4 separate regions of the Homo sapiens genome follow, and all the other regions are linked to region 1. The links are contacts of gene promoters, found by promoter capture Hi-C in blood cells and fetal thymus (Javierre and others, 2016). All regions are on one chromosome and are shown on one strand. The core of a region is centred on a gene start or on the middle of the fragment in contact, and the rest is flanking DNA. Distances in the headings are between cores, read along the strand shown. Region 1 holds the start of CA13 (carbonic anhydrase 13). Region 2 overlaps CPNE3 (copine 3). Region 3 overlaps CPNE3 (copine 3). Region 4 overlaps WWP1 (WW domain containing E3 ubiquitin protein ligase 1).

Region 1 (6,336 bases), core at 1,586-4,085:
AGCCTGACCAACATGGTGAAATCCCGTCTCTTCTAAAAATACAAAAATTAGCCGGGCGTGGTGGTGGGCGCCTATAGTCCCGGCTACTCAGGAAGCTGAGGCAGAAAAATCACTTGAACCTAGGAGGTGGAGGTTGCAGTGAGCTGAGATCGTGCCACTGCTCTCCAGCCTGGGCGACAGAGAGAGACTCCATCTCAAAAAAAAAAGAAACAAAAGAATGGCTACTCCATAGACAGAGTTGCCCTAAGGGCAACTGGTTGTCTACTTTTTATGGTTATTTCTTGATTACATGCTAAACAAGGGGTGGATTATTCATGAGTTTTCTGGGAAAAGGGTGGGAATTTCCTAGAACTGAGGTCTCCTCCCACTTTTAGATCATATAGGGTAATTTCCAAATGTTGTCATGGTATTTGTAAACTGTCCTGGGGCTGGTGGGAGTGTCTTTTAGCATGTGAATGCATTATAATTAGCATATAATAAGATTTGAATGGAGTTGCTGTGGTTCCATTGCCTCTGACACTTCCACCCCATTCACACTCATCCTCTATAAGGAACTATTTTTATTAATTTATGGCTTTTTCTCTACTTTTTTGGTAAAAATCTGAAAATATGTGTGCAGTTTCTTATTTCTATTTTTTTCTTAAACATGCAGTCTATTATATACACTCTTTTGCTCCTTTGCTTCCCCCGCTCCCGCAACCTCAATACATCCCAGGACTCACTTTATATCTGCTCTGCTCATGGAGATCTTCATTCTTTTTATAAATGGACAATAGTCCATTGAATGGCAGCTGGGCGCAGTGGCTCACATCTGTAATCCCAGCACTTTGGGAGGCCGAGGCGGGTGGATCACCTGAGGTCAGAAGTTGGAGACCAGCCTGGCCAACATGGTGAAACCCCATCTCTACTAAAAATACAAAAATTAGCCACTAGTAATGCATGCTTGTAATCCCAGCTACTCTGGAGGCTGAGGCAGGAGAATTGCTTGAACCTGGGAGGTGGAGGTTGCAGTGAGCCGAGATCGCACCATTGCACTCCAGCGTGGGCAACAAGAGCGAAATTCCATCTGAAAAAAATATATATATATATAAGTCCATTGAATGATGGATGCTCTACAGATGACCTAACTAGTTTCCTATGAAAGGTAATTTGATTGTTGCCAATACTTAGGTTGCTGTTTTAGAAAATTATATAGACTGCGCTATGAATTTAAACAAGAAGGAACTTGAAACCACTACTGCAAAATTATAATTGAAACAGTGAAAGAGATTGGACCTAACCAACTCTATCTTATTTCTAACTTCTAAGCTGTCCTTACTCATTCTTAGGCATAGGCTGAACTAACTTTGAGGAGGAACATAGTTTATAGTTTAGAACAAAGACAATAACAGCCCTTTCCCAAAACAAACCTTCTTTCCTGGGGACTGGACCGCCTTTGCAGGACTAACAAATTAGCCAAAAGATTAGAAATTATGGTTTAGGAGTCATACAGCTGGAGGCTGTATGATTCTGACCCTCCCCAAATTGCTCCTGGGAATAACATCACTATTGTAAAGCCTAAGACCAGTGCTTCAGATATGTTGCAGACCCTGCACTGGATGGATCAGCAGGCACCACTCAGCTCGATAAACTGGCTCATCTGATCCCATGGCCCCCACCCAGGAACTGACTTAATGCAAGACAGCTTTGACTCCCTATGATTTCACCTCTGACCCAAACAACCAGGTCTCCCGACTTACTGGCTCTCCTCCACCCACCAAATTGTCCTTAAAAACTTTGATCCCCAATGCTTGCGGAGACTGATTTGTGTAATAATAAAACTCCAGTCCTCTGCACAGCCGGCTCTACGTGAATTTCCCTTTATGAATTGCAATTCCCCTGTCTTGATAAATCAGCTGTGTCTTGACAGTGGGCAAGGTAAACCCATTGGGTGGTTACAAACTGTGTACCCAAGCAATAAAAGTAACAATTTGGGAAGTATTTGAGACCCACCAACCAAAATTTCTTTAACAATTTTGGTCTATTCAGTCATTCATCCATTCATGTAACCACTATTATTGGGTGTCAAGAACTGATACTTACTTAGAACGTTAAGAGCATTATTCATCTTGACATACCAAATCATCCGAGTTACTGAAAATTGGTTTACTAGGTTCCTTACAAAGAGGTTGCTTGGATTTATAAAATATGAGGCAGTTGACCCGAGACAAGGACGTAGAAAGTGGTTCATGTACCCAATTTTTATTTTTCACTTTGAACCCAGAACATTCACGACTCCAGGCCAGAAATTCAAGACTCTGCAGCTAGTTCTGACTCCAGTCCTAGGGTAACAAGCCCACCAAGAATCCAGGGCAGATGTCCTGAAAACCCTTCTTGCGGGGTCAGGAGGGCAGCAGAATTTTGGGACCAAATCTCAACAACTGGTTTTGGTTTCCTCACTCACCAAGCCACAAGCCTGCAGAGTGAGAAGAGGTAAGGAAAGGATGAATGGGCAATGGAGCCAGCCCAGGACCGGGAGCTGGTCCTCTCTAACAGCGACCCCGCCCGCTTTAGCTGAGCGACCCGGGGCAGGTTACATAGTGTCTCTAACTTAAGCCACGTGTTTCTCGAGGAAATGCTGAGAGGATCTAATGGGAAAACGTGGGTACACGTCTTAGCTAAGACCCTCGCCCACGATAAGCCCTTAATAAGTAGTTATTTTTCAGTGGTGGTGATTACCATCGTCATTATTGTTTTGTATTTGTAATCATCACTGCCACGACCATCACCGACCTCTTTTACGCCTCCACCGGGATCCCCACCTCCCAGCCTGGCAGTTCCAGGCTCTGGTGACTCATTCACTTCCTGGAAGTCCTCTAGGCAACACTTTCCTCTCCCGAGTGACGACTCCTCAGAAGGCAGGAGATCCCCCCCGGAAACCTTTCTCTCTCCGTCTCTCCCTCTAACTCAAATCTCTCATTCCCGAGTCCAAACTAAGAGAGACTCGCGCCCCAGGAGTCAGCCAGCGGCGCGGGCGCCTTCCCCGCACGCCTCTGCCGTCTGGAGGACGCAGGCGGGAGCGCCCCGGACCGGGTTCACGGTCTCGCACTCCTGCCGCCGGCGCCCCGCGGTCCCGCCCTAGCAGGCTCCTTCCCGGGCCCCTCCCCGCTCCCTCCTCTTTCTCGCTGCTCAGTCACATCTTTCTCTTCCTTCCACCCCGAGGGACCATGTCGAGGCTCAGCTGGGGATACCGCGAGCACAACGGTGAGCGCCTTTTCCTGATCCAAGGGGGGGTTTGTGCGGGGGACGAGAGGACTAGCGCGACGCCCCGGCGCTCGCTGACCACACACTGGGCTCGCACATTGAGAAACTTTTTCGGTTCCTCTTTAAACTAAGCAGCACTCCTGGGAGCCCAGTGCGAGAAGCGGAGAGCAGTCTTGTCAGGGTAGACGGGTTGTTGGTGGTGGATGTGAGCGTTGGTGTGTGTTATCTCTGTCAGGATTCCCCAAACTCCCAAGTGTTCATACGTGTGAGTTCACCTTCATCTGAAAAGCCAAGGACTTTGCCTAGTAACAGCCACGTATCAATTACAGGCTTGGAGATCAGAAGTCTGATGACACACTTCAGTGAAATAAGGACAAGTTCGCTTTCAGTCTTTTAAGCTCACTATTCACTTAGGAGAAACAAATCATAGAAAATCTTTAAAAATATATTTAGGAAATCTTAACTTGCATTGTGACACTGAAGATTAAGTTGGCTTCGTGGCAAACAAAATACTGCATGTTTCCTAATAGTTGTTACTGTAAATATTCCCACAGCAATTTGCAGTTGGCTGACTACTACTGGGGACTTTAGTAAGGGTTCAGGTTCTCGCTGGGAAATTAAGTTACATTGTGGGTTACTTCTCCACTCTTCTTCTCCACGCTCATCCTTGCAGGGTGAGCAAAGGATTACTGAAATTATAATTCATTGATAGAAATGTATTAATAGGATAAATAATAATGACATACACTTTTCTTCTTGTATATCACACATTATCAAAAGTAAAACATTTTTTCTTGTTCCTACGTTAAACTGAACTGATTGTTTAAATAATAATTATTTGAAATAATCGCAGTGACACCAAAAAGCCTTATAGTGAATAACTGTCAAAATTAAGGCTTAGTTTAGCCATTCCTCAATGTGCATATATTTCAAAACATCATGTTGTACACATAAATATATACAATTTTTGTCAATTTAAGAAGTAAATACATAATAAAGAAAAAAATTAAGGCTGTGAATAATAATGCTTTCCTTCTATTAGCATGTACATGATTAAACAGTATAGAATGGTCAAATTTTATAGAAAGTTTAATTTCACAAACTAACAGAAAAATTCTATTTCTAATTGTAGCCTGTTTAATTTCTAATTGTAGCCTGTTTTTAAACATGCTAGTTTAAAAATGGCAGCAGGTGAAATTTATAACTTTAATAATAAAAGGTGTATAGTCAGATTTCTTCTTGATTAAGGCCATAATTATAATCTTACATTTTGCTAATTTCCAGTGAATGTTTAGGGGGAAAATATGACAAATCTTTTTTCATTTCCCTCTCTGCTGAAGTCGTTTTTATTGGAGTTATTTAATAGTCATTGAATCCCAACTGCGCCTTTATGGTAGTTAGGAAGAAGAAGGGTATTTCAATCAATCAATCAATGGATATTGATTACTCTTTAGTAGGTTAGAAATTATTCACCTGAATGAAGCTTATTTCAGCAATTTTAAAAATTCATCTTAGCAAAGCCATTAATAAGGAGTGATTTTGTATTTCTGTTAGGAATTGTTCTGTTAGGAATTAGCCATTCCTTTCTTTTAGATGCGATCTCTCTCTGAAGACCACATCCTTACTTAAAGGTGTGGTCTTCAGAGAAAGATTGGGAAAATCCTATTGGAAATGTATTATATACTAACTAGGCAAGTTTTTTGTTTGTTTGTTTGTTGTTTTTGAGATGAGTCTTGCTCTGTTGCCCAGGCTGGAGTGCAGTGGCACTATCTTGGCTCACTGCCATCTCCCTCTCCTGGGTTCAAGCGATTCTCCAGCCTCAGCCCCACCAAGTAGCTGGGATTATAGGCATGAGCCACCATGCCTGGCTAATTTTTGTATTTTTAGTAGAGACAAGGTTTCGTCATGTTGGCCAGGCTGGTCTAGAACTCCAGACCTCAAGTGATCTGCCTGCCTTGGCCTCCCAAAGTACTGGAATTACAGGCATGAGCCACAGCTCTGGGCCTAACTAGGCAAGTTTTTTGTTTTTTTTTTTTTTTCTGTTTAAACATTGGTAAACCAGTGACTGAGCAGATAAAAGGAAACTTAAGCTGGGAATAGCAACACTGATAAAATAAAACATCAAGACTTGAAGCCCTGAAAGGGTACTGCCTTCACAAATAACTTAGGATTCTTCCCCTAACCTTTGACTACTTTATTAGTTTAGTTTAGCGAATGTGACATCACTGAAAAGTGTATATCACTGTAGGTATTTAAAAGTTCCTAAATCAGTTGAGCAACCACCACATATCTCTAATTAAGAATTATGCTGGCTGGGCACGGTGGCTCATGCCTGTAATCCCAGCACTTTGGGAGGCCAAGGTGGGTGGATCACCTGAGATCGGGAGTTCAAGACCAGACTGACCAACATGGAGAAATCTCGTTTCTACTAAAAATACAAAATTAGCTGGGCGTGGTGGTGCGTGCCTGTAATCCCAGCTACTTGGGAGGCTGAGGCAGGAGAATTGCTTGAACCTGGGAGGCAGAGGTTGCAGTGAGCGGAGATCACGCCATTGCACTCCGGCCTGGGCAACAAGAGTGAAACTCTGTCTCAAAAAAAAAAAAAAAAAGAAAAAGAATTATGGTGGCTTGCACCTGTAATCCTAGCTACTCAAAAGACTGAGATGGGAGGATTGCCTGAGGCCAGGAGTTCCAGACTAGCCTGCAGGGTCATGGGGGGGACAAGGAGAAGGAGGAGAGGAGGAAATTTTTTTTGGAAAAATTGAAAAAGGGGACCTCTTTAAGAGGCAGGGTACTGAACTGACTATGGTAGTTAGTAGATAATATTGGGAATGTGATACAAACAATTATTACTTTTATTTTATTTTGGTTTGACTTCTTTTTAAAATAGTTCTGTTTATAAATGACTGGAAATAGGAGAGCAAAGCAATTAGGAGAAGAAAGCAACTCTATTGATTGGAAGAATGTCACCTGCATATTGTAACACATGCATTGCGCATTTGAAATTGAATTTTCGTTAGGTTAACTCTTACTTGGTGGCAGTGAAATAGAAGGCTTTTTCTGAATTAAGGGGGAAAAAAGTCTAGGTTATAT
Region 2 (6,336 bases), core at 1,916-4,415, 1.3 Mb after region 1:
CTACCTTGCTTCCGCTTTCCTCCATGTAGATAATAATTTTTAAAAAGTTGTGTTTTATAATTTAATCATTCTGTTTCCTAAATATCTAAGGGTTTTTCTGTGTGTATGTATACTCATGTGTGTGTATGTGTTCATATGTATGTGTGTATGTATGTATTTGTATTTATGTTCCCCACCCCCAGCCCTTGCATAAACATAGCATACTAGATGTACACTTTCCTCCACTTTGCTTCTTTTACTTAACATATCCTGGAGATCAGAGCCAGGGAGTTTAATTATTGTTTTAGTTCTAATACTAGCAACTTAACCTTCAAACAAGTATTGGTTTTTAGCCTTCAAAATAATAACAAGGATATTCTGCTTTTATTTCATTCACTTAAGATTCTTCTTAGAGATAAGGTTAAACACAGTCTTTGTGTTTATATTTTTGACTGTACCAAATATCTTATTTGCTTGACATTAAACTTTGTGTTCAAGAGAGAAATAATTTTATTTTAGTTCTTAATTTAATACTGAAGTTAATTCAGGACTAAAGAAATCTTCAGCTCAGGGATGTATCTGCATATATTCCTGTGGGATTAACAAATGTCCTTTCATTTTCAAAAATAACAAGTCATAAATGTTAACGAGTATGCACATTTCAAAATGAAGATACATGAAAATGAGAAAAAATCATCCATAGTCTTACCACCTGAGTTTAACCTCTGTGAGTGATTCGTACATTTTTCCTGAATTTTATCTCTCTGTATGTGTGTGGTTATGTGTGTATTGAGGATGGTGATAACGGTATTTTTGAGCATTTAGTGTGCTTGAGCATTGTATAGGAGTTCTGTGGTGAATTACAGGAGAAATAGAAGATGTAGTTTGTGCCCTTGAAGTGTTTCTATTATGTGTTCCACATATCTACCTCTGGTCATTTGTGTATGTAAAGAAATGTGTGGTTTTGATGAAGGAGTTTTGGACATAGAAGGCTGAGATATGAAGTTAAAGCCTGGATCCATTAATTAATTAGATATGTGATCTTGGGAAAATCATTTACCCCTCTGAATCCATTTTCTCACTGATAACTGCCCTGTCTCCATAGAGTTGGTATGGCTAATGTTTGTGATATCATTTATATAAAACTACTCAGTGATATGTGAATGAAAATGGTTAAAGGTGAAAACAAGGCAAAAACATATTTTATGGTATATTTGACCACTGTATTTTAAAACTGTCATGTTTTTGAGAAGTCAGGGTATGATATACAGGATTATGAGCATTTATCACAAGCACTTTGATAATTCTCCCTAGTAGACTTCCGTAAGTTTCTAAGTTAGGGAGAAAGGTGATGGGATGTATATTTACTATCAATACTATAGAGTTAGACTTCAGGTGGTTGCCAACATGTGTAAAGTATGGTCACACATGGTTTCATGGGTTCAGAGGAGAACAAATGCTTTTTGTTGTTTGTTTTAAATGTAGGATCTATTTGGAAAGTCAGACCCATACCTGGAATTCCACAAGCAGACATCTGATGGAAACTGGCTAATGGTTCATCGGACAGAGGTGAATATTTGAATTTGAAAAGCAGAGTGGAGGTGTTCTTTGAAATTATTGTAATCTGAATTTTAAAAAGCTTATATTTATAAAAGTATCAATCTGAGTTCATACTTACATATAGCCAGAGACACAAGATCACCATGTTCATATTTTTTTCTTTCAATGAGGAGGTGCTACCGTACTTTATGATTTTTATTTTGAAAAATTTTAAGTCCTATAAAGAACACTAAATGTATTCCTCTGCACCCCTCACCTAGATTCACCAAATGAACACACACTCCCACATACTTGTGCTCTCTGTCTTTCTCTATCTCTGTCCCTCTCTGTCTCTCTCTCTCTCTCTCTCTCACACACACACACACACACACTTATGCACACATGTATTTTCCTTTTGCAAAATCATCCTAATGGAGCTACAGATATAATAACTCTTATCTTTAAATGCTACAGCAGACCAAGTGTGGTGGCTCATGCCTGTAATCCCAGCACTTTGGGAAGCCAAGGCAGGTGGATCACTTGAGGTCAGGAGCTCGAGACCAGCCTGGCCAACATGGTGAAACCCCGTCTCTACTAAAAATACAAAAATTAGCCAGGTGTGGTAGCACTTGCCTGCAGTCCCAGCTACTCAGGAAACTGAGGCACAAGAATTGCTTGAACCCAGGAGGTGGAGGTTGCAGTGAGCTGAGATCGCACCACTGCACTCCATCCCAGGCTACTGAGCGAGACTCCACCTCAAAATAAATAAATAAATAAATGCTACAGCAGGTAGTTTAAAGAACAGGGACATTCTATACAATAATACTTGAGAAATTAACATTTGACATAGCTAAATGTAACATTATTTGGTATACCATTAATCTTCAGATTTCCTCAGTTGTCCCACAGGTTTTGTGTGTATTTTGTTTTGCTTTGTTTTGTTCAGAATCCAGTCAAGGCTCAAATTTTGGATTTGACTATTATATTCCCAATAGAGGACTCTTCTCCCTACCTTCCTTATACCTTGATGCCATTGAATCTCTTGAAAATCAAGACCAGAATGTCCAACATTCTGGATTCTTCTGTTTCCTCACAACTAGATCCAGATCAAACATTTCTGTCAAAAACACTATGTGTGTTCCTTTTCTTTACATTTTCAGGAGGCTCATGGTGCCAGGCTGCCCAGCATTGATGATGTCATGCTTGGCTACTTGGTTAAGCTGGTGACCGCCAGATCTCACCATGATAAGGTCTCATTTTTCCCCTTTTTAATTAATAAGTGCTATGTGGTGTGAAACTATGAGACTGCATGAATTACATGTTCTCTAGCACTTCAACCAGTGGTTTTAGCATCCATTGGTGATCCTTGCCTAATCAATTATTGTATTATGGGTAGTAAAATAGTGATTTTTCAAAATCTTTCATCCTTTTTAGTTATATTAGCAGGCATTCCTCTTTCATCTCTCTCTTTCTCTGCTTTTATTTTTAGTATCATTATAAATTCATGGATTGTTATAACAGTGTATGCTTTGTATTTAACTCATTATTGTATTTTTGCTGCTCAGATTCATCCATGTTTGACTAGAGAGAGCTCGTAGTCTCTAAAATGGCTCTTGGTTTTTCTTTTTGACTTCATTCATCTTTGAGCAGTCTCTTAAGTTAGAGTATGTTCTCAGTTCCCCTTGTACTTTTTCTGTCCCAGAGCTGGTATGAGCCATGTCTCTTAATAAGCCCTATTCCTGCAAGAGGGTAGTAGTATTTAGACACTGACATCTGAGTGCTGAATGTGCTCATTGCTACTGGATATCATTGTTTTATGCCTTTTAAGTGGACACAGCTAAGAAATATGTATATTTGTGTTTATCTGTTTATTATGTATGTATATATGGTATTAAAATTTTAAATTATAAATGTGGACTTATTTCTCCAATTCAATTCCAACATAGTTTCTTATTCTATATTTACCTTTTCTTATTTCATATTTGAATCTTCTGTGCCCTGCAATGAAACCCTCATTGCTATTAAAATCAATAATCCTCCGCAGTTTTTTTTTTTTTTTTTTTTGAGACGTTGTCTTGCTCTGTCACCCAGGCTGGAATGCAGTGGCACGATCTCCACTCACGGCAACCTCCACCTCCCAGGTTCCAGCAGTTCTCCTGCCTCAGCCTCCTGAGTAGCTAGGATTATAGGCATGCACCACCACACCCAGCTAATTTTTGTATTTTTTTAGTAGAGACAGGTTTTCACCATGTTGGCCAGGCTGGTCTCAAACTCCTGACCTCAGATGATCTGCCCGTCTCGGCCTCCCAAAGTGTGGGGATTACAGGTGTGAGCCACCGCGCCCAGCCATCCTCTGTAGTTCCTAAGTGCTCCTTGTAATAGGTAGATATATTTTCCAAATAGTTTTCTACTTTTCCTCAGAATGTATCACAACTGGACAATTTATTACATTTTTCATGTAGCAGTTGTATAATATTGTTCTAGGTAGTTTTTTTGTGGAAATAGTTGAGTTGATGAAGAGGTGGAGGACGAATGGTGAGAGTATAGCAAGAACCTAGGAAGGGCAGGAGCAAAATGTTAATGAACTGGAAGTTTTTCTAACAGCTTTTTGAAACCACATTTTTATAGGTTGTTAAAAACAACTTGAATCCTGTTTGGAGGCCTTTCAAGATCTCTCTTAACTCACTGTGTTACGGAGATATGGACAAAACCATTAAGGTAAGTTGAAATTATATATATATAAAATACTTAAATATACCCATGTTCACCTATTTTATAAAATTAATACATAAGATAGTATTTAAAGAAAGTAAATGATGTAAGACACCTACAGAGTTAAATTTTATGTGTGTAGAATACTAAAATAGAAATGTCTTCTGGTAAGTGACACAGTTTGAGGAGTAGGCATGTTTGACTAATCTGTTGACCTAATGCTTAGTCAAACAGTGTCGTTTCTATTTTATTCTGTATTTTAAAAAATAAAATGTCCAGTTTAATATTTTTTTCCTTTTAATAAGATTCCTCTGCTCTGCTAATAGGAACCTCGAACTACATTATTTGCCTTTGGTATGTCTGTTGCAGATAGAAGCAGATGTTACCGTAAGAACTCAGAGCTTGCTTCTGCCCTTAGCAAGGGAGGGCAGTATTGATGGCATTTTTCTTCCTTATTTTCAGAATGAGATAAGTAATTAATTGAAAGCTTTTAGAAGGCTTTAGTTTTAGAGTATCAGGGAAGTGGAGTATGAACAGCAAATAGCAGATGTCAGTATTTTTTTAAATGTTTTTATTCATAGGCATTTATTTAAAAAAAGAGTAAAAATATAAATAAAAGAAAACTCATGGAGTGGTGTTGAGAATGAAAAATATATACATACATATACATAAAAGAAACTTTTGTACTAGAATTATTAACTTTACATGATTACAGATAGAGGTCTTTTTTATGTTCAGACTTCAGTCGATCAAAGGGATTTTTTGGTTTGTTTTTCTCTTTTTCTGATAATAAATATGGTAAAAGCAGGCAGGATAATGAGGAGTAAGTATAAGATTTGGAGTCAGACCACAGTTCAAGTTTTGACTTAGTCCTTTAACTGGCTAAGGGATCTTGGGCAGGTAACCACACTTCTTCACATTTACTTATTTATTTATTTTGCTTATTAGTAGGAAGCTTCACCTGGATTCTTCACTTTTATAATAGAGTTAAGAATTTCTACCTTCCAGAAAAGCAAAAATTAAATTAGCAGAAGTGAAAGTTTTGTAAAAATTTTGTAGAGGTGCCATTGTTACTGAAAAACTGCTTCATTTTTGCCGGGCATGGTGGCTCAGGCCTATAATCCCAGCACTTTGGGAGGCCGAGGCGGGCAAATTGCCTGAGCTCAGGAGTTTGAGACCAGCCTGGGCAACATGGCAAAATACTGTCTCTACAGAAAATACAAAAATGAGCTGGGTGTGGTGGCGCATACCTGTGTTCCCAGCTACTTGGGAGGCTTAGGTGGGAGGATCCTTTGATCCTGGGAGGAGGAGGTCTCAGTAAGCCAATATTGCTTCACACTGCACTCCAGCCTGGGTGATGGAGTGAGACCGTGTCTTAAAAAAAAAAAAAAAAAAACTGCTTCATTACTGAGATCCATAAAAAATTGCTTCCAGTTTGTAAAGAACTTTAAAAATCAATCTAAGTATGATTTGTAAGGTATTTGAAACAGTAGTGAAAATCCAGGTCCGAAATAAATAGTTGAAAATTAGCTATAAAAATTATTTTTTATCATTTTGCCAAATCCAGACTTTTGCTTTTCATATTAAAAATAGTAAACATCATTAGATGTCAGAAGGCAGGTAAATCTAGGGGAAAATGTCTAAGCCATAACTATTTGATTGTGTGTAATGATATGTTAACAACAAAACAATATCTTTTAAACTTTTTTGCTCACAGTGGCATGCTTACAGGGCTATTTTATTATAGTAAGTAAACTGATTTTCTGAGCTTTCTCTAATGAATGTCTTCCATTCTTAAAACTTTCTTGGTTTGTTTTTAACTATACACAACTTGGTTTGCTACGTCATCACTGACTTTATTTCATTTAGTTCTGCATTTCTTTGCAATATCAAAAAGTCATACATTTGTGATTCTCTTACTGTTCGAAAATTGCTTATAGGGATAGTAAAGAGTTATAGAGCAGTGAATAGAGTCAGAATCCTCAGTAGTTTCTTTGCCATGTTGTGTTATCATTCTAGCATGTATTATTTTCATTAAGATCAAGTGAATACGAAAAATAATCATGCATGCTGCCACTTTGCCTAAAATGGGAGTGCCTTACTGAA
Region 3 (6,336 bases), core at 1,983-4,482, 1.3 Mb after region 1:
TTTGTATTTTTGGTAGAGATGGGGTTTAGCCATGTTGTCCAGGCTGCTGTTGAGCTCCAGCCATCTGCCTGCCTCAGCCTCCCAAAGTACTGGGATTATAAGCATCAGCCACCGTGCCTGGCCCAACCCTGCTTCTATTAATAACTTTTATTAATACCTCACTAAATGAACCTATGATGAACTGTTGAATTGATGGACTTGAAAATACAATCAGTGATACTTCCAAAATGTATATACAGTAGCCAAGGGATTAGAAAAGTGGTAAAACCTGAAACATATGTTAAGTAAACTTTGTAGCCAGTTATGAATCATGGAATAGAACAATACCAGGATTTTAGAGAAATTAATGAAGGGTCTTTAGTTGATTGCTTACTTTGTAATGATAAAGAGAAGGTAAAACTGCACCTACTTTTTATTTTTGAAGTTAGAGTGATCACACCTGTTAATTCCTGCTTTCCTCCGTTCTGCATGTCCAAGCATCAGCAATGGTATCACTATTTAGATCCTGCTCAAGATAGTTTAAGAATCTGGAAACTTTTTGAAGTGTGGCTAAAAGCTGATTTATTTTGCTGCCATGATAGATGCTAAGAGCTTAATAATGTGAGATTTCATGGATGCTAATAAAATTTATTTCCTTATTGTGCTGCATCTACTTAATAGACTGGGCCCTGTGGTTTGTTTGTTTATTTAAGTCATCTGAGCACTTAATAACAATTTTGAGCAAAGGTACCTAACTAGTGGAGAAGTTTCTAGATACATTTTTTTCAGATATAGCTTTTTTTGTTTTGTTTTGAAATGGAATTTGGCTCTTTTTGCCCAGGCTGGAGTGCAATGGCACGATCTTGGCTCACTGCAACCTCCGCCTCCCTGGTTCAAGCGATTCTCCTGCCTCAGCCTCCCATGTAGCTGGGATTACAGGTGGGCGCCATCATGCCCAGCTAATTTTGTATTTTTAGTAGAGATGGGTTTCACCATGTTGGCCAGGATGGTCTTGAACTACTGACCTCAGACCATCCGCCCGCCTCAGCCTCCCAAAGTGCTGGGATTACAGGCGTGAGCCACCGCACCTGGCCCCAGATATAGCTTTTTTGATAGAGATGGAGACTGAGTTTGGAAAACTTTATCCTTTTTCTTCCATTTCTCCTTTTTGTACTTATAAATATTCTAATGTTTTCTATTCATTTTAAAAAATCCTTTAGTACCACTTCCTAAACAAGTTCCATATTCACTGTAATTAAATTAGGGTTATAGTACATTAATGGAAAAGACCTTAAGAATTACTTAAAGAAAGGGATTGACTCAACTCTTAGGTTTAACAGCTGAAGGCTGGGCGCAGTGGCTCACGCCTGTAATCTCAGCATTTTGGGAGGCCAAGGTGGGCAGATTACAGGCGGATTACCTGAAGTCAGGAGTTCGAGACCAGCCTGGTCAACATGGTGAAACCCCGTCTCTACTAAAAATACAAAAATTAGCTGGGCGTGATGGCAGCGCCTGTAATCCCAGCAACTCAGGAGGCTGAGGCAGGAGAATCACTTGAACCCAGGAGGCGGAGGTTGCAAGTGAGCCAAGATCTCCATTGCACTCCAGCATGGGCGACAAGAGTGAAAGTCCATCTCAAAAAAAAAAAAGATTTAACAGCTGAAAAAACCTGAAGCCTGGAGAAGTTACAGCAGTTGCCCAAATGCCTGCCATTGTGGTGTGACTAACACAGAACCAGGCATTTCTTTTTTTTTTTTTTTGAGACGGAGTCTTGCTTTGTCACCCAGGCTGGAGTGCAGTGGCGCAATCTTGGCTCACTGCAACCTCTACCTCTGGGTTCAAGTGATTCTCCTGCCTCAGCCTTCCAGGTAGCTGGGACTACAGTGCACCATGCCCAACTAATTTTTGTGTTTTTAGTAGACACAGGGTTTTGCCATGTTGACCAGGCTGGTCTCAAACTCCTGACCTCAGGTGATCTGCCCAGTCCATTTCTTTTGACACCTGATCCAGTGATTCTTCCTTTTTGTTTCTTTTTTGTTTTGTTTTATGTATATTTATGCTTGACATTATTCCCTATCTTCATTTCTGGTATCCTGTGGTAGTGATTAAAAAAATACATCTGGGCATCACTTTGTTACTAAATACAGAACAAGCGTAGTTTAAATTCTTTTAATGTGAGTTTTTTACTCTCAGAGTCTGGATATTAAGTGCAGTATATTCCTGAGAATAAATGTTGCTGCTCTAAGACGATCTAATGGCACCTACACACATGGCAGACCTGTGTGTGTAGAGACACACTAGCAAGGAGAACTTGCTTTCTTAGCCTTAAGTAATTTACAATTTAATGGGTTATCTTGAAGAGGAACTGCTATGAGGTAAATAAAATATAAACCATTCCAGTTCTTCCATTCTTTGGCAAGCTTTTGTTATTCTGGTTACGTTTGTTTAAGAACCATATAACTAGTTTTAGCCTCAGTATTAACCTTGTAATTTTAAAGTTCCTATTTTATTAATTTGTGTCAGGCTGAATATTACTTTTGATATTAACAAGACTTAAGGAAATTAATAGAGAATATTGCTGTTATACTAAGTAACTATTTTTTGATATTGTTTTTAATTGAAAAATCATAATTGTTTACATCTATGGAGTTTATTTATTTTTACTAATACTATTTTTACTTGACAGCTAATTAACTATTAATTAGAGGCTTTAGTGCTCTGAAGGGATTTTGGCATAAAGGGGAAAATACCTGGGTTTATGCTGTGGTGGTGACACTTACTAGCTTTGTGATCCCATGTAAGTAATTTAACCTTTTTGAAGAAATTTATATTTTTTTCCTAATATATACTATGCATTATTTTGAAGATTAACAATGTGCTGAAAATTATCAACATATTCTGGGTCAATCAATTCAGACACTGGAGTGCCTTATATTATAGTCATACCTGTGACATATGGACCTTCCACCATGTAGTAATCATTATCCTGCCTAACTCACAGAGTTTTTGTAAGGTTCAGAAGATAATATATTATTTGGAAGCACTTTGAAAATTGTAAAAAAAAACAAAATCTGTCCAGTTGTATGGAATTATTAACTATCTTTTCTTTCCCCTTATTCTTCTACTCCCCACTTTCTTACTGTCTACCCTTGAATGTAAGGGTGAAAAAGAAATCTGGTAGTCAGTAGCAATAATACTGCAAATTCTTTTTGTAGTGGAGTATAGTTTTAATCGTCAGTAAAAGTAGAAATCTCTGGGGAGCTTCTTCAGCTCCAAGAGCACTTTGATTGTTCCCTGTCTGTACCACACAATTTTATACTCTTGTATACTATTTCTATGTATACATAGTTAGCTAAGTAGCTAAGTATTTATTTCGTTTTTGCCTCCCCCAACCCTCACTTTTGGAACACCTAGAAAGTATTCAGTAAGTAATTGTTTTATGAATGGGTCTCCCCAATTTGATTATAATGAGCTACAAGCGCTTCTGTTGCTGTATAATGTCCCTGCTGTCCTTAGCAAAATAATGGGTTTACAGTAACCTGGTAATAAATACATTTGCTAGTCTGACCTGGGAACTCTGAGGAGCATAGCAGCCTTTGGATTTACAGCCATATTACCTGACGCCCGCTGCTTTTTTTTTTTTTTTTTTTTTTTTTTTTTAGTAGGGGAACACTTATTACTATTCTGAGCAACACAATTTGAGAAACACTGCCTAGGGTGTGTTTTGCTGATGTTGCTGGGCCGGTTCCAGCTGCCCCAGGGTTGCCCTTGCTTGCTTTCAATAGCGGTCAGGCAGGATGTACTGCAGAATAGCAGTTAGTGAATCATGGTATTAGAACCAGAAAGAACTTCTGAGAATTTTTTACATTAGGCCAGTCTCTTCATTTTTCAGCTGAAGACTGAAGGAACTTTACTAAAGGGATTTGTAGATAGGCACCGACTTCTCCTTCACAATTGTTTTAGGACACATTTTGAGTCACTGACATGAGCCTGCGCTCCCCTCACCTGCGTACCTTATCTATACTCAAGGCTGACTATTTCACCAAATTAATTTTATGTAAATCCCAAAAATCATTATTGTTTCAAGAAGCTTTTCATAAGTAAGGATGAGAAAGCTGCTTTATGTCTTACTACTTAATAACAAGCCATCTATGCTGAGACAATCAATTAAAATCCCTGACTCAGTAATAAAATAATTGCTACAATTCATAGAGTGTCTATTATATGCTGAGCATGCTACAGACCTACAGTTGTCAGGGTTTTTATTAAGTTTATTTTTCTCTCTTAGCCTTATTTACATTGAAGGACTAGTGTCAGGGTTTTTTAATATCCCCATTTTATAAATTAGGAAATTGAAGTTCAGATAGACAATTTGGCAGAGGTGACACATCCAAATTAGTGATGGGAAAGAAATTTGAATGACACACGCTGACTCCAGCATTATTGCTCTTTCTGCTACAAATAACCTGTGCCAGATGTCATGCTTCAGGAAGAAGAGGAAGTGGTAAAATATGTTCGCTGCCCACAGTTCACAGTATATAGACGGAGTGATGAGCCACAAATACAAGTAACAATAGTGGAAAGAAAATAGAATCAGTGCCATAACAGCATGAGGGGTATCAGCAGGGTATCAGCAACAGCTGTATGAATGAAGTATCATTTGAAGTGTTTGTTTTGTTTTGTTTTGAGATAGAGTCTCACTCTGTCGCCCAGGCTGGAGTGCAGTGGTACCATCTCGGCTCACTGCAACCTTCACCTCCTTGGTTCAAGTGATTCTCCTGCCTCAGCCTCCCGAGTAGCTGGGATTACAGGCACCTGCCACCACACCTGGCTAATTTCTGTATATTTAGTAGAGACAGGGTTTCACCATGTTGGCCAGGCTGAGTTCTTGAACTCCTGACCTCAAGTGATCCCCCTACCTCGCCCACCCAAAGTGCTGGGATTACAGGTGTGAGCCACCGTGCCCGGCCTGAAGTGGATCTTGAAGAACTTGGGTGGGCAGAGGTAGCTGTTCAGGTAGATTAGGGGTAGATGTTGGCAGAGCCATGAATTCCAGGCTTAGTTCATTGGACTATCACTTTTTAATCAGAAGTGATAAAACCATAATGTGAATGGAGAGAAAATGGCAGTGGGAATACCCATTAGGAGACTATTATATAAGGCAGGTGAGAGATACAGAAGACCTGAAGTTAGGGTTGTGACTCTGGGTATGGGAAAGCGGCTGTATCTCCATGTTTGGGAGAGATTTGGGGTTCTAGTAGGCAGAATCTCTATGACATCTTTACTGGATAAATCTAAGAGTAGGTTTAAGGAGGAATGGGAAAAGAGGAAGTAGATAAGACTTCAGGATTTTCAGCCAGGGCATGGGAATGACCAGATGCCTTAAATTTCACATATCAGGTACCACTTTAAATATTAGGTCTTAATTCTCAGCTCCTTATGTTTATCTCTGTTATAATATTGATTCAGAACGTTAGGGTGACTGGGAGAATTATTGATATATTTGGTGTTTCTAGGGATTATTTGCATTTCAGAAGACGTGTTTGGATCAAATTTTGTCCAACAAGTAATAATCTGTACAGTAGGGAAGCTGTTGTCTAATCCTAGGGATTATTTGTGTTTTCTATCCTGCTCTTTAAGGAGTAAAATACTACATAGAATTCTTCTTTAGTTGCTCATGCATTCTTTGCCAGGTGACTTATCCCAGCCAAATCTTTCATACTAAAAGAGTATAAAACGTTTGTTTTATTTTTCCTCATCATAATTTTTTTTTTTTTTTTTTTTGCGACAGGGTCTTGCTCTGTCACCCAGGCTGCAGTGCATAGCTTACTGTGGCCTCGAACTCCTGAACTTGAGTGAGCCTCCTGCCTTAGCCTACTGAGTAGCTGGGACTACAGGTGCATGCCACCTTGGCTGGCTAATTTTTTCATTTTTCTTTCTTTCTTTCTTTCTTTTTTAGACGGAGTCTTGCTCTGTCGCCCAGGTTGGAATGCAATGGCGTGATCTCACTGACCGAAACCTCCGCCTCTGAGGTTCAAGTGATTCTCCTGCCTCAGCCTCCTGAGTAGCTGGGATTACAGGCATGTACCACCATGCCTGGCTAATTTTTGTGTTTTTAGTAGAGACGGGGTTTCACCAGGTTGGCCAGGCTGGTCTCAAACTCCTGACCTGGGATAATCCACCTGCCTCGGCCTCCCGAAATGCTGGGATTACAGGTGTGAGCCACTGCGCCCAGCCTAAAATTTTTTGTTTTTGTAGAGATGAGGTCTCTGTTGCTCAGGCTGGTCTTGAACTCCTGGGCTCAAGCAATCCTACTGCCTCAGCCTCCCAAAGTGCTGGGATTACAAGTATGAGCCA
Region 4 (6,336 bases), core at 1,997-4,496, 1.1 Mb after region 1:
ACATTTATTTATCTTAGTGTTTTCTAAGAAGTAGCTCTGACTTTGTTGATCCTTTCTGTTACCTTCTTTCTACTTCATTAGTTTCTGCTCTTTATTAACTCCTTTCTTTGGGTTTGTTCTATTTTTCTCTTTCAGACTTACCAGATGACCTACTAACACATCAGTTTTCAACCTTTCCTTTCCTAGTATGTCTTTAAGGCTATAAATTTGCCTCTAAGTATAACTTTTCCCACACATTTTTATATGTGGTATTTTTGTTTTTCAGTTCTTAGTTTGTTTTTTTTTTTTTTGTAATTTCCAACATGGTTTCTTTTGATTCACTAAATATTTAGAAGTGTTTTTAAATTCTATTTATAGTTTTCAAATTTATCTTTTGTTACTGATTTTTAACTTAATTGTATTACGGACAGAAACTTAGAACATTTTTTGAAATTTAGTGAGATTTTCATTATATTTCAGTGTATTTTTTTTGTTTGTCACTCATGTTTCATGAATACCTGAGAAAAATTTTTATTTTCTGATAGTTGGTTATGAGGTTCTGTTGATGTTATTAAATCCTGCTTGTTCATTATTATTTTTTTTGTCTGCTTGACTTATGATTAATTGGGATGTGTTGAAATCACCCACAACAATGGCCAATTTGTCAATTTCTTCCTGTAGTTTTTACTGTATTTTGAGGCTTCCCACCCCATGTAGACTGTGAATTTTATTTTGTCTTGTCTGGATAGAGATTTTTGTTGTTGTTGAGACAGAGTCTCGCTCTGTTGCCCAGACTGGTGGCTTGTTTTCATATAAATTTGATTTTTAAGATTATAGACTCAGACTTGGTTGCTCTTCGTCTTAGGTACTCCCAATGGCTTAAATTGGGGTACTTTCCTAAAACATACGTATATGCTTCTGCCATATGTTAGGAGTTTCTACTGACTTGGGCCCTTTGCTTGGTATGGGAATCTCACTCCTTCCCCTTGTAGCAGGCCCAGTGCTTTGTCTGTTCCTGTAGCAGGCATATCCAGGGCAACATTCTAATGTTTATTTTTATTTTTGCTTACTACTCACCATTTTTTCTGTTATTTCAACTAACTTTAGGGTTTTCTTTTAATGGGATGGTAATAGGCTTGATAATTTTCATGTACTTTTTGAGAACTTCTTAGTTGATTTAAACAAGTAGTTTTAATATCTTGAAAATTACAAACTCTTATCTAACACATGAATAAATTCCCCTTTTTTAAAATAGGTTTTAGCTGAATTTTGGGACATGGCCACTGCTTCACCAAGGTCTGATACTAGTAATAACCACAGTGGAAGGTTGCAGTTACAGGTAACTGGTAAGTTATTTTTATATTTAATATGGTGATTCCCTGATGAACTTTTCTTTTGAATACCTAATTCAGCAGACTTATTCCAGAAATAGAATTTCTTTTAGATTCATACTATGGCATATTTGTTGCAACAAGCCTCAAAGGTAGATGCCCTCCAAAACTATATTATTTATTCAGTAAATATTTATTGAACCTATGCTGGATGAAGAGAAGATATAGCCTCTGTAATGGTGGGAGAATTTGGGCTTTTGAATAAGTATCATTGCATTGGCCCTTAAATGATTAATAGGATGGAGCAGGATGCCAAAGGCCTTCTTACATACATTTAGCCATTTGTTCAATCATTGGGCAAATATTTAAGTGGGATTACACAGTACTGTAATTCCCATGGTACTCATTATATGAATTTAGTTATTTCTAGGAGGTTTCAGTTAACAGAGCTAGGAAATGTTTCTTGTAGAAAGCAAAAAATAAAAAATATTTTAACATCCTGAGTTCATGCTGATATTTCCAATTCATAATAATAACTGTAGTCTATAAGTACCATTTTCTACTAAAAGGAAACAAAATTTAAATTAATTTGACTTTATATTCATATCTTTTTTTTTCTTTTGAGATAGGGTCTCACTTTCTCTCCCTGGCTGGAGTACGGTGGCGCAAACATACCTCCTTGTAGCCTCAAACTACTGGGCTGAAGTGATCCTCGTGCTTCAGCCTCCCAAGTAGTTGGGACTGCAGATGTTCAACACCTTGCCTGGCTAATTTAAAAAAAAATTTTTTTAGAGACAGGGTCTCACTATGTTGCCCACGCTGGTCTTGAACTCTTTGTTTCAAGCAATCCTTTTGCACCACCCTCCCAAATTGAGCCACTGTGCCTGGCCTGTAACTCTCTCCTCTTAATCAAAAAATCTCCATTCAAAATGACATTATCATAATATCTGTTTTTATCCTACTACACCAGTTCAAAATAACATGAAAATTACCAAAAACAGAGGGAGAAGGAGGTGAAAAAAAGGTAATTTAAAAAATTACCAAAAACAATAGGTCTACTCATTGCAGTTTAAGATTTCTTTGTGTGTTTTCCCCCTTTAGGACGTATAATCAAAATACCATGTTTTAATGTACTTTAGTAATTCTCTATTTGGTTATATCACCAAATTGATAATTAGTTAAGTTCATCGTTTTCAGTTTTTTTTTTAATTTTGTTTTATAACCTTGTAAGACATTTACATAGTCCCAGAGTCAAAACCAAGGTACATTTAGAGAGGTCTGGCTACTTGGTCCCATTTTCCCACTTCTCTCCCTTGCCCTGTAGGTTCACATTTTTATTAGTTTTGCTTTATCCTTCTGTTGCTTCTTTTTGAAAATATAAGCAGATACATGTGCAGTATACGTATCTCATCTCTCCTCTTAATCTCCTAATTCTTGCATACTTCTCTGTGCTTTGCTTTTTTTAACTTTACAGTATTATTCTGGAGTTTGTTTCATAACAGAATATTCTTTTTCATCATTGCGCCATATCCTGTTGAATAGATGTAAAAAAGCTAACTAGTCTCCTTTTGCTGGACATTGGCGTTCCACTGTTTGCTATTACCAATAGTGCTGCAACAAATAACTTCATACAAAAGTCGTTTCTTATGTCTGCTCATGTATCAATAGGATAGGATCCTAGAATGAGATTGCTGGGTCAAAGGGTAGACACATGTAATTTTGCCAGGTATTGCCAAGTTCCTCTCCATGGGGTCTGCACCATTTTGTGTCTACACCAGCTATACATGACAGTGCCTGTTTTCCCAAAGCCTAACCAAAATCTGTTGTCAAGCTTTGGGATTGTTCATAATTAGACACTGAAGTGGTATCTTAGTGTTATTTAAAATAGCATTTCTCTCACTGTAAGGTTGAACTATAAGGGATATTTGGATTTTGGTTTCTGTGAATAATGGGCATCTATTTTTGAAACAGTTCTGATGAAGCTGATAGGTACTCCACTGAAGAACCACTTACATAATTCCTTCTACTTTTGCTCTGTATAAGAAGCTTAGAGCCCTATTTTCACTACATTTTCAGTTTATTGTAACTTGCGTAGGACCAATGGACAGTACACCTGAGGTGTAACTTTCAAATGATCTTGACCTATGTATAAGAGTTCTTAGGTAAAATAAGAAAAAACTAGGCCAGGCGCGGTGGCTCATGCCTGTAATCCCAGCACTTTGGGAGGCCGAGGCAGGTGGATCACGTGAGGCCAGGAGTTTGTGACTGGCCTGGCCAACATGGTGAAACCCCATCTCTACTAAAAATACAAAAATTAGCCGGGCATAGTGGCACATGCCTGTAATCCCAGCTACTTGGGAGGCTTAGGCATGAGAATCACTTGAACACTGGAGGTGGAGGTTGCAGTGAGCCGAGATGGCGTCACTGCATTCCAGCCTGGGGGATAAAGTGAGGCTCTGTCTCAAAAAAAAAAGAAAGAAAAAGAAAAGAAAAAGAAAAACCTGATCTGGCTAATTTGAGGTGAAAAAGAACATACTGAAAGACTATCAGGTGACTCAAATCTGGAGAACCAGTTGGAAAATAGATGTGGACCAAGGCAGTCTAAGTAGCCAAAACAATGCCATGACAGTATTTATCATTTTGAGCGTCAGTTGCTGCTCTCCTTTGAAATACAGTGATCCTTTTGGGAAAGAATGATCATGGACCTGTGCTAAATGGCACCAGGTTTTAGTGCCTTCTTTTCTTCTTGTCTTTGTCTTCCGTTTTGTTGATCTAATTTTTAAAATAAAAGTCACCTTAAAATTACCAGTCTTACTGATCTCACAATAACTTCTGCAATAAAGATTACTACTCCTGATTTGTCAGTGAGGACACTGAGAATCAGAGGGATTAAGTGCCTTGGGTTAATAATGAGAAACCAACTGAGGTCTTAGGACTCCAAGTTGTTGCTCCTTTTATTAGATTACAAAGACCTCTGTATTGATTTTTTCTTTTTTTTGAAATGGAGTCTTGCTCTGTTGCCCAGGCTGGAGTGCAGTGGCGTGATCTTGGCTCACTGCAACCTCCCCCTCCTGGGTTCAAGTGATTCTCCTGCATCAGCCTCCCAAATAGCTGAGATTACAGGTGCATGCCAGCATTCCTGTCTAATTTTTTTTTTTTTTTTTGTATTTTCAGTAGATACGGGGTTTCACCGTGTTGGCCAGGCTGGTCTCGAACTCCTGACCACAGGTGATCCGCCTGCCTCGGCCTCCCAGAGTGCTGGGATTACAGGCTGAGCCACCACGCCCAGGCTTTTCTTTTCTTTTTAAAAACAGTAAGTACTCAGATTAAGACCCCTCTAATATTGCAGTCTGGCTGTTTATTGTCTGTAAACCGAGGTTCTCTGCCCTAAGCCAATTTTTTTTTTTTATTTTTAGCATATTTACTCTTATCCTCATTTCTGTTCTTAACCCTTATCTGATTGGCAGCAACATGTAAGAATAAGAGCATTGATCATGGAACGCGGAAAAACTGATGGAAAAAATCAAACAGAAAACTACCTATTGTCATATAGTAATATACTGTAATGTACCAGCTACTCAAGGATAGTAGCATATAGAAGTGTATTATCTTCGATATTTTAGATTTTAGACTTTCAACAGGAAACTGTCAGAAGCATAGAGTATGCAAGATGTATAAAGGATGAGATTGAAGAAAAAATGGGCTGTTGTATTCATGTTTATAATTTTTTTTTAGCTATTGTGTCTTCTAAAGCATTTTCACTTTTTAAAGTAAAAGTGTCAAATCATATACCACTTATTTTTGTATGAGTGGTGTGAATTATAGACTTCATTCTTTTCAAATGTTTCAAAATTTATGGTCTCATCTATCTTCCCATTGATTTGAAATGCCACTGTTATGCATTAGTATCTTGCTTTTCTCTTTACTTCTCTTTTACATCACTGTCAAACCATTTTAATTATTTTCACTTTATGGTACTTTTTAAAAAAATATTTTGAGAAATTTCCTTTTATTACTTTGCATTTTAAAATACACGTTTACTGTTCTTGATTTTTCTTTGGCTTTTATTTGAATATTTAAGTCTCCCTTCCTTTTCCTCTGCCCCCACCAAAAACACTCAAAACCAATCAGTTGGTGTTTTTATTTTAAAATAATGTATTAAATTGGAGCTAATTGAAATATTTCAATGTTAAACTTTTCAAATCTAGGAATATATCATATCATTTTTTTTAAGCCTTTGTTTCCATTGGTAAAGTTTTATAGTTCTCTTCATGTGACTCTTACTTATTTCTTAAGTTTATTACTAGATTTTTTGAAGGGATGTTATTGTGAGTGGGATTTTTGAGTTAACTCTCCCTACCCTCTCACAGGTGACTCATTTTCTGATAGTTTAAAAATACTTATATAACCTTAGAGTGGAGGACATTCTGTGTATAACACCAAAGGAAACTCATTAAATGAGAAAAAAAATCTATATATTCTACTAACTAGAACAACTTTTTGAATTAATAAGGTTGTCTTCTAGTTATTTAAAATCACATTATTTATATGTACATTTTGCTAGCATATTTATAAATTCCTCATGAGATTAAAGATTATTATCTTTGAAAAATCTCTTTTCTTACCTTACCCTCTAGTATTGTTGAGTATTTTGCCAAGTAAGGGTATTCAGTGGACGTATTTTGGATGGATCTGTAATGAACTCAGAGAAGAGTTAATACTATATAGTCAGTAATAATAGAGTAACAGCTACCATTGTTGGATGCCAGACATTCATTGATGGTGATAGTGCCTTGCATGCCTTCACTCACCAATCCTAAGAATCAGGTACTGCTGTTCTTCTGATTTTTCAAGTAAGGGATGGAGAAATTAATTGACTTACTGTGGTCAGGCTTTTAGTAAGTGGCACATTTGAAAAATGAACCCAGATATGTCTATCCCTCTGCTTTTAACACCATCATATACTGACTTTTCCTTCTTCCAGTCTTCTGCTATATGGATAAGACTTACATATACTGAGGAAATA

What was found. The method cuts DNA at HindIII sites, captures the fragments that hold promoters and counts their contacts. A CHiCAGO score of 5 or more calls a contact.
Region 2: a contact is called between a fragment that was not itself captured here and the fragment with the promoter of CA13 in region 1, in 1 of 17 cell types (neutrophils). The highest score is 5.9, in neutrophils.
Region 3: a fragment that was not itself captured here is called in contact with the fragment with the promoter of CA13 in region 1 in 2 of 17 cell types (naive B cells and total B cells); the score reaches 7.8 in naive B cells.
Region 4: a fragment that was not itself captured here is called in contact with the fragment with the promoter of CA13 in region 1 in 7 of 17 cell types (total B cells, M2 macrophages, naive CD8 T cells and 4 more); the score reaches 6.1 in total B cells.

Annotation. Positions count from the first base shown.
Region 1 is chr8:85,242,623-85,248,958 of GRCh38, forward strand. It overlaps CA13 (carbonic anhydrase 13), which reads left to right and starts at 2,836. Exons shown (of 7, transcript NM_198584.3): 1 at 2,836-3,243. The coding sequence starts at 3,207. It overlaps LOC105375936 (a long non-coding RNA gene), which reads right to left and starts at 863. Exons shown (of 3, transcript XR_929126.3): 1 at 723-863. RefSeq lists a silencer at 3,091-3,170 and an enhancer at 3,531-3,640. The HindIII fragment of the contact is 11,713 bases long and covers 1-4,724 here.
Region 2 is chr8:86,536,099-86,542,434 of GRCh38, forward strand. CPNE3 (copine 3) reads left to right here. Exons shown (of 17, transcript NM_003909.5): 7 at 1,465-1,548; 8 at 4,147-4,236. Among named protein-coding and RNA genes, the nearest start is that of CPNE3, 25 kb to the left of the region's middle. The HindIII fragment of the contact is 3,099 bases long and covers 1,617-4,715 here.
Region 3 is chr8:86,518,939-86,525,274 of GRCh38, forward strand. The region is part of intron 2 of CPNE3 (copine 3); the gene reads left to right. Among named protein-coding and RNA genes, the nearest start is that of CPNE3, 7.7 kb to the left of the region's middle. RefSeq lists enhancers at 4,350-4,449, 4,470-4,519. The HindIII fragment of the contact is 1,670 bases long and covers 2,398-4,067 here.
Region 4 is chr8:86,372,796-86,379,131 of GRCh38, forward strand. It overlaps WWP1 (WW domain containing E3 ubiquitin protein ligase 1), which reads left to right. Exons shown (of 25, transcript NM_007013.4): 3 at 1,235-1,325. The coding sequence starts at 1,256. Among named protein-coding and RNA genes, the nearest start is that of WWP1-AS1, 32 kb to the left of the region's middle. The HindIII fragment of the contact is 215 bases long and covers 3,140-3,354 here.